2 separate regions of the Homo sapiens genome follow, and region 2 is linked to region 1. The links are contacts of gene promoters, found by promoter capture Hi-C in blood cells and fetal thymus (Javierre and others, 2016). All regions are on one chromosome and are shown on one strand. Each heading gives the region's core, a stretch centred on a gene start or on the middle of the fragment in contact. The rest is flanking DNA. Distances are from core to core; before and after follow the strand shown.

The links. The method cuts DNA at HindIII sites, captures the fragments that hold promoters and counts their contacts. A CHiCAGO score of 5 or more calls a contact.
Region 2: a fragment that was not itself captured here is called in contact with the fragment with the promoter of ZNF280C in region 1 in 2 of 17 cell types (activated CD4 T cells and naive CD8 T cells); the score reaches 5.7 in activated CD4 T cells.

The regions. Positions count from the first base shown.
Region 1 is chrX:130,266,429-130,270,353 of GRCh38, reverse strand. ZNF280C (zinc finger protein 280C) reads left to right here and starts at 1,455. Exons shown (of 19, transcript NM_017666.5): 1 at 1,455-1,592. RefSeq lists a silencer at 1,675-1,754. The HindIII fragment of the contact is 6,334 bases long and covers 1-3,925 here.
Region 2 is chrX:129,922,953-129,927,356 of GRCh38, reverse strand. It overlaps UTP14A (UTP14A small subunit processome component), which reads right to left. Exons shown (of 15, transcript NM_006649.4): 12 at 2,162-2,562; 13 at 1,245-1,438; 14 at 1,018-1,117. All of the region lies in intron 2 of LOC105373335 (a long non-coding RNA gene), which reads left to right. Among named protein-coding and RNA genes, the nearest start is that of UTP14A, 19 kb to the right of the region's middle. RefSeq lists a silencer at 1,574-1,623. The HindIII fragment of the contact is 700 bases long and covers 1,398-2,097 here.

The DNA.
Region 1 (3,925 bases), core at 206-2,705:
AGTGACAGGATTTACGTGTGTGTTATGTAAGCCACACGATATTTTCAGTCTGGGCAACTCTTAAGAGATGAATTGGGCCAGGCGTGGTGGCTCACGCTTGTAATCCCAGCACTTTGGGAGGCCGAGGCAGGCAGATCACCTGAGGTGGGGAGTTCGAGACCAGCCTGACCAACATGGAGAAACCCCGTCTCTACTAAAAATACAAAATTAGTCGGGTGTGGTGGCGCATGCCTGTAATCCCAGCTACTCGGGAGGCTGAGGCAGGAGAGTCACTTGAACCCGGGAAGCGGAGGTTGCGGTGAGCCAAGATCACGCCATTGGACTCCTGCCTGGGCAACAAGAGCGAAACTCCGTCTCAAAAAAGAAAAAGAGAGATGAACCAGTACTGCTATAAACCTTGTGGAGAAATTTGGGAGAAGAAACTTTTACAGTTCAAAGCACAATGTCTAGAAAATGTTTCTGTAAGCAGTATTTTGGCAAGTGTTTTTCTTGTAAATGTATTTACAAGTTCCAGTGATTCTCCCGCCTCAGCCTCCCAAGTAGCTGGGATTACAGGCATGTGCCACCACACCCTGCTAATTTTGTATTTTTAGTAAAGATGGGGTTTCACTATGTTGGTCAGGCTGACTGGGGTTCAGAGAAGGAGGAGGAGAAAGGCGAGGAGGAAAGGGAAGTGGTCTCAAACTCCTCACCCCAGGTGATCCACCCACCTCAGCCTCCCAAAGTGCTGGAATTAGAAGTGTGAGCCACCGCGGCCAGCCCACGGACGGACGGCTGGTACTTACATGTGCACAAGTGCAGCTACTTTACTTACCGTCGAAGGCAGCGGAGGAAGTGTAATTGACTAGCGTGGATGCAGCTTTTCTAAGCAAACGCTCGATTTAACCTGGAGTTGTCATCCCACAAAATACATTGTACCTGACTACAGAGAAACATGAATTCTGGGTCTTCCTTGTGTGTAAGAGTAAATGTATTTTTCCTTAGCATTTTTTGTACCTACTATAGGCATCCATATGGCAATTAGAAGTAACAGAGAGACAAGCAAAACCATATGTTTAAAACAAAAGGTAAAAATAACTAGTATTTTGAGACGTGTTTCAAGTACAGTATTTCCAGAAAACAATATATTTATATTTTTAACTCGTGTCTTTAGCCCTCACACACAAGGAAGACCCAGAATTCATGTTTCTCTGTAGTCAGGTACAATGTATTTTTTGGGATGACAACTCCAGGTTAAATCGAGCGTTTGCTTAGAAAAGCTGCATCCACGCTAGTCAATTACACTTCCTCCGCTGCCTTCGACGGTAAGTAAAGTAGCTGCACATGTGCACATGTAAGTACCAGCCGTCCGTCCGTGGGCGGTTAAAAGGCCCCGGATGTTCAGGGGGTGGAGTCGGCGTCTACCCATGAGGCAGCGCGTGCAGTTATATACTTCTGCCCCCGGCTGAGACGCCGGTTCCGCGCTGGAAGTCTCCGGGGGAGTCGCTGTTGCTGAGGCTGTCGCCTGAGGTTTTTCGCGCTCCTCCCTTTCCTCCTCCTCTTTCTCCTCCTCCTTATCCGAACCCCAGTCAGACCGATCTGCTCTGCTCTCGGTAAGCGGCCCCCGCCCCCGCCTGTGCCGCGCGGAAGGAGGCAGCAGCTCTCCCGCGCGGCCGAGGCAGCCTTCCCCAGAGGGCGGTTCTGAGGGCGGCTGGCTGAGGGTCTCTATGCCGGTGCGGATCGACGGGGGTGCGGGGGAGGGGACAGGCTTGGCGGCGTGGTAGCTGGTGGGCCACCATCTTGCGCCGGGCCCTGAAGGGGGAGGGTTTTCTGGAGGTAGAGCCTGGCGGCCCGCGGCGGGCAGTGGTTTCGCGGGCCGCGGCAGCTGCGGCAGCCTTCTCACCTCCTGAGTCCTGTCGGTCTGTTTCCAACCCGGTTTGGGCTTTTCATTCTGGAGGCAACTCCCTTTCGTCTTTTGTACGGTTGATACTGATGTTTGACGGAGACCCGCCCACCCTCAAGTCTCTTCAATCAAACGAAAAGAGACTTGAGGGGATTCCGAACTTTCAGGCATCAGAGACCCTGTGACCCCTTCTTTCTGCGCAGGTTCCCCCCACACAGGACCGGTCATTCCATGCCCACAACCTTGTTCTGGCCAAAGGGACTTCCCTTCTCTGTCACAGAAATCGTGCTCTATTCCGTTATTGTCTAGAGGATAAGAGCCCTGAGGAGAAACGTGGAGTTAAATACACTATATTCTAACTAGGAGGTTTGCAGGTTTTACTTAAAGAGATGGAAAAAATTATGCTGAGGTATACTCCTGCTCTAGAGATGGAGGGAGTTCCTTTCAACTTCTCTCAGGTTTTAATGCTTTTTTAAGGAGAAATTCGAGAGGAAATTGTCAAGTGAACCAGCTTCTGCAAGCACGGGAGACCTTCATCCAGGGGATTCTCTTTGTTTGGAAAGATTTGTTAGTTTTGTGGAGTTTTTTAAATCTGCGACCTTAAATTTTTTTTACTATTGTTTTCAGGTTTGGACTATGAGTTGTAATGTCTTTTAGTGCCCCTAAACATAAAATAGAAACCTAGAAGTAGAGTTTTAAACTGCAAAAGTCTCCTCTTAGTATTTGTGAGGTGTCCTGGTTTGGGGGTTACTGTGCAAACTTAATCTCCTTACGCAGAAACTTCACTGAGCCTACAAAGGCACTGATTTGCTTGTAAAATTAGGGCTGTGTACCTTTGATGTTTCTACAGCAGTACAGATTCCATTATAATCGTATCTTGCATTTGTATATTTCATTGGTAGCACCCCTTTTGAGATGGGCTGTAGGGTGTCGTTAGAACTGTTTGAAGATGAGGAAACAGCCTCAAGGACAGAACTTTACCGAGGTCATGTGCCTAGGAAGTGATGGAACCAATTCTTAAACCTAGGCTTTCTGACCCTCATCCAATGTTCAATTTGGTATATTATGTCTCACTTTTTGTGAGAGTGAGGTGGTCACGGAGAATAAGCAAGGAGGCTCACTTAAAAGTTTTAAGAAGTATTATTCAATTCCTTTTTCCTTTATATTTTTATTTTTAAGGCTTCATTTTTTTTCGACTTTTTCATACTTTAATATTATTTCTAAGCATGTTGAAGAGTTGAAGAATATCCTATTGAAAAAGTTCTTAGGTTGAATAACTCCAAATCTCAGCTACTTGGTTTTCAGTGAGTTTGTCTTAAGTAGTGATTCAAAAAGATTTGATTTCCTCAGTAATTTTTTTTTTTTTTTTTTGAGACGGAGTCTCGCAATGTCGCCCGGGCTGGAGTGCAGTGGCGCGATCTCAGCTCACTGCAACCTCTGCCTCCCGGGTTCAACCGATTCTGCTACCTCAGCCTCCTAAGCAGCTGGGGTTACAGGCCCTTGCCACCACGCCCGGCTAATTTTTGTAATTTTAGTAGAGATGGGGTTTCACTATGTTGGCCAGGCTGGTCTGGAACGCCTGACCTCGTGATCCACCCACCTCGGCCTCCCAAAGTGCTGGGATTACAGGAGTGAGCCTCCATGCCCAGCCTTCCTCAGTAATTTGAATCAAATATATACGTCTAGACTTTTTTTCCCAGTGCTCTGTACATTCAGAGAAACATCACTAGTAATGAACTGTAGAAATGACTCCTGAAAGTAGAGTATTCGTCTAGACTTTATTCATTTGCTGCAAAGTAGTTTTCTTTTAAGGAGTTTTTTTTTTCATTTTTTTGTTTCCTTTTTAACTTTTTATTGGCAAATGATAATTGTGCGTATTTATGGGGTACAATGTGATGTTTTGATATGTATACATTATTGAAAGAGGCTAACATAGCCATCACCTTACCAATTTATCATTTTGTTATGAGAATGTTAGAAATTATTTTAGCAATTTTGAAATATACAATACATTATTAGTATTAGCTGTGGTCACCTTGTAGT
Region 2 (4,404 bases), core at 498-2,997, 340 kb after region 1:
CAGGGCAACAGAAAAAGAGAACACCTGGACAAAGTATTCAGTCTCAGAAGTCCCCCCTAGGCACCTTGAAGCACTTTATTCTACTGCATGTTGGAACCTGCAGTAACTTATTAAAAAGATGAAAATCAGGGGAGATTCCTAGAAAACTATTTGTCAGTTTGCCATGACTGTATTAAAAAAACAAACAGACCCCTGGAAGGGAAGGGTGGTCTTTATTGAGCTCCATACTCTACCCATCACCTGGAATCCTGGCCCACTGAAGCACCCTTTCCCCCCTTCCCTTATCGTGTAACTGCCTATTTTCTAGTTATATAGGTTTAATTGGGACTGCAGTAGTTATGATTCAGTTTCTGCAGTGATTGGTTCACAAAATAAGATCAAAAAGAATGTTATTGAAATGTGTATCTTCTTACCTCTGTTCTGTAGCCATTAATTCTTTATTCCTTCCGAGGGAAAAATGTAACTCATTTCAATATACTGGCTGGGGACAGATCTCAGAATTGAAGGGAACATAAAGGTCATCTAGTCCAATCTCGTTCTTGAGTCCCCTTTACACATTCTCATACTCCCAGAGCAGCCTTGAATTCTGTATGTCCTCTAACTTCTACTTTATGTGACTTCATACAATAACCTTCGATATACTTGAACACCGTAATCACGCTCAAATTTTCTTCTCTTGTAAACATCCCTAGCTCATTATCATGTGACACAACTTACAATCTTCTCATTCTCCTGAACAAGTACCGGTTTGTCTTCATTTTTCTTAAGCTACAGCTTAAACCTTATAGCCTCTGTTTGAGCATTACCTTGACTCTAAACTTTTTTCCTGGCCAGTAATTAAAACAGCGTAGTCTATCTGAAATGATAAATCTAACAGCCATTCAGTGAAAACAACAGATTTGATTCTGCGGTCAAGATCACACGTCTCTCTTGACTACAGATCACTAGAATACTCCTCTCAAGCAAGAGAGCCAGGCAGTAACAAGCAGGCAGCTAAAGAGCTCTCTAAGCTCTCACCTGATGAGCAGCTGCGTGGATGTTGCGCTTCTCATTGATAATCACATTTGGCAAATTCTTATCTTTTCTTGGAGGACCCTCAGGGGCTTTAATGAGAAACCTGGAAAGCAAAACAACAGGACATCTGACTAGGAGCATTAAGGACTTAGTCAAAAGGGTAGGGAGGACACCGAAGGGCGAGGGGAGAACCCGGTGCCCTTTTGACAGACTTTCTTCGGCATTCTTACCGGCGTCTTTTCTTGGCACTGGGCTTTAGGCCCACACCACCCCACTCGCCCCAGCCAGGTAGTGTCAGGTCCACGTCCTTTGGCTTACTCGCCTCCACAGCTTCCCTCTTCTCTTTCAAGAAATCTCTGATGACATCATCCCCAGCAAAAGCTTCCTTTATCATCTGCCTATGGTTTCTCTCCTCTTCATCTTCCTGGGAAGAAACAAGCGAGAGCTACAGCTTGGCTTATGAGCTGTGGTTCATGGCGAGAACGCTTGAATTTCGGGTCGTGACATTTTAGCGCCCCCTAGGGGGAAGTGCTGAACAATGATGGTCTTGCGATACAAACCAGTGCACAGCCAATCATGCTCAAATTTTCTTCCCTCTAGGGTAAATATCCCTAGCTCATTATCATATGACACAATTTTAAACTTTTCAGTAAGGAAGCTGCAGGGTGGAGGAAGGAATGGCCCGTGTTAGCAGCAGGAGCTCTAAGTGGCCAGACTGTAGGCTTCCTCCAGCTTATATCCCTGAAAAGACAGGTGCCAGGACGCTTCACTTTAAGTTTCAGATTAACTGGGGAGTCTTAGACCATCTGAGATCCCACTGAATAAAACTTTCGCAACAGTTCAATGACTCACCTTCAAGTTGTCCTGCCTGGGATCTGGTCAGAACTCTGAGTTACTCCCTCTTACCTCTGAGAGCAGTTTTAGAGTCACCCCAGAGGAGTTTTTGTGGATCAGGCTTTCGGAAATAGGGGTCTTGGCAGCACCCATATATCTGCATCTATTAAAACGTCACTGGGACTAGCCTGGCCCTATACTATTCTGGACCTCTAAACTACTGAAATGTGCCCCCAGCAAAACAAAGCTTCATTACTCCTTGCGCAAGAACGACACTTTCTGAACAATGGCCCACCACCCTGGCTCTGCTCACCAGCTCCTCTATTGTGGGAACTGCCAAAGACTTCACGGAGGGAGATTGTGTGGTTAGGAGGTTCTGTAGGTCGATCATTTGCTCCTTCTTTTTCTTCTCCTTAGGGGCATCAGGGCGATTATTTGGGGTCCTCTCTGACTGCTGCCCTTCTAACACAGGTCTGGGAAGCTCCTTATTTTGAAAACATTCTTCTTTTCCCAGCTCTTCTAGCTCTTCCAGCGTCTGTACTCTCTCTGGTCTCTGTAGCAACAGGGGCTCCTCTTCTTCTGGGGCAGGTTCCTCTCTCTGGACCTGGGGAATAGTCCCCTCTGAACTTGCTTTTTGCTTCCTGGACTGATGGTTTTCCTTCAATTTCTGAGATAGTACTCTCAATTCAGACAGCACCTCCTGGCTGCCAGAATCTGGGGGAAAAAAGAATGAAAACTGTCAGAAAATGAGGTTTGTACGTTGTCTGGTCGGTAAGCATTTGTTGAGCACCCACCAAGTGCTAGGTACCACATAAGACATTATAAAAAGGACAAACGGGGAAAAGAAGATTCTGTACATTGAATCTCCTAGACAGTACACTAATCATAGCAGGCAACGGAGTTTGGTAATTAAAAGTAGCATGTGGCCAGGTGCGGTGGCTCACACCTGTAATCCCAGCACTTTGGGAGGCCGAGGCGGGCAGATCATGAGGTCAGGAGATCGAGACCATCCTGGCTAACACGGTGAAACCCCATCTCTACTAAAAATACAAAAAATTAGCTGGGCATGGTGGCATGTGCCTGTAGTCCAGCTACTCAGGAGGCTGAGGCAGGAGAATCACTTGAACCAGGGAGGCAGAGGTTGCAGTGAGCCGAGATTGTGCCACTGCACTCCAGCCTAGGTGACAGAGCGAGACTCCGTCTCAAAAAAAAAAAAAAAAAAAAAGTAGCATGTGAGATGTTGGATATGGTGGCTCACGCCTGTATGCCAGCACTTTGGGAGGCCAAGGGGGCAGGATAGCTTGAGCCCAGGAGTTCGAGACCAGCCTGAACAACATAGTGAGAACTCATCTCTACCACCTCCACCCCTCCAACAACAACAAAAAATTTCCAGGCATGGCGGTGTGGATCTGTAGTCCCACCTACTTGGGAGGCTAAGCTGGGAGGATTGCTGGAGCCAGAAGGTCAAGGCTGCAGGAAGCTGTGACTGTGCCACTGCATACTAGCCTGGGCAACAGGGCAAGACGTCTCAAAAAAAAAAAAAAAGTAGCATATTGGAAGCAGACGTCCTGGGTCCTATTCCCAGCTTTGCCAATGATCCACTGTATAACTGGGACTGTGGCTTAAGTTCCTCGTGCAGTAAACCCTGCTTGGGAAGATTGCCCCAAGTTCCAAATTTTAAAAAAGGAAGCCACTTTAACAGGTGGCTTCTCAATGTAACTTCATTGTAATTTATGCTTCACTGCTTGTAAAAACCCTATCCAGGATTTTCATCTTGACTCAAGAATTTCTACTCCATATCTTAAAGCAGTATTTCATAATCTGCTGTGGCTGAGTCAAGGGATGAAGTAGCTGCTTTATCCAGTGGATGTAGCTCACACTTTCACTGGCAACATCTGAGCAAATAACACTAGTCTCAAGAGTCTGGAGGGGCTGGCTTGGCACAGTGGCTCACACCTGTAATCCCAGCACTCTGGGAGGCCGAAATGGGTGATTCACTTGAAGCCAGGAGTTTGAGACCAGCCTGACCAACATGGCAAAACCCTGTCTCTACTAAAAATACAAAAATTAGCTGGGCGTGGTGGCATATGCCTGTAATCCCAGCTACTTGCAGGCTGAGGCAGGAGGATTGCTTGAACCTGGGAGGTGGAGCTTGCAGTGAGCCGAGGTTGCACCACTGCACTCCAGCCTGTATGACAGAGACCTGTCTCAAAACAGTCTGGAGGGAAACCTGGCAGTGACATGCTTCTAAACTGTCTTTTTCATTGACTCAAGTTGCCTCCATTCCCAAGTTGATCCTGCTGTCTAGCTTTGGCATGAAGCCATTGTAGCTCCTTAGATCTGGCCTTTGGACACATGTACGTTTATTTCTCAAGAATCAGGTTTCCTTGCTCATTTTCACTGGGGTCCGTGGCTTTCCAGTATTTTAGGACACTCTTGGAAGGTGTGAGAAAATTCAATTTATTTACTGTCCAAGGAAATGCAAATCTATCTTTCATTCTTTCATATCACAGTCAGCCGCTCTGCACATTTAGCTAGATGGCCAGTTGTTGAGGG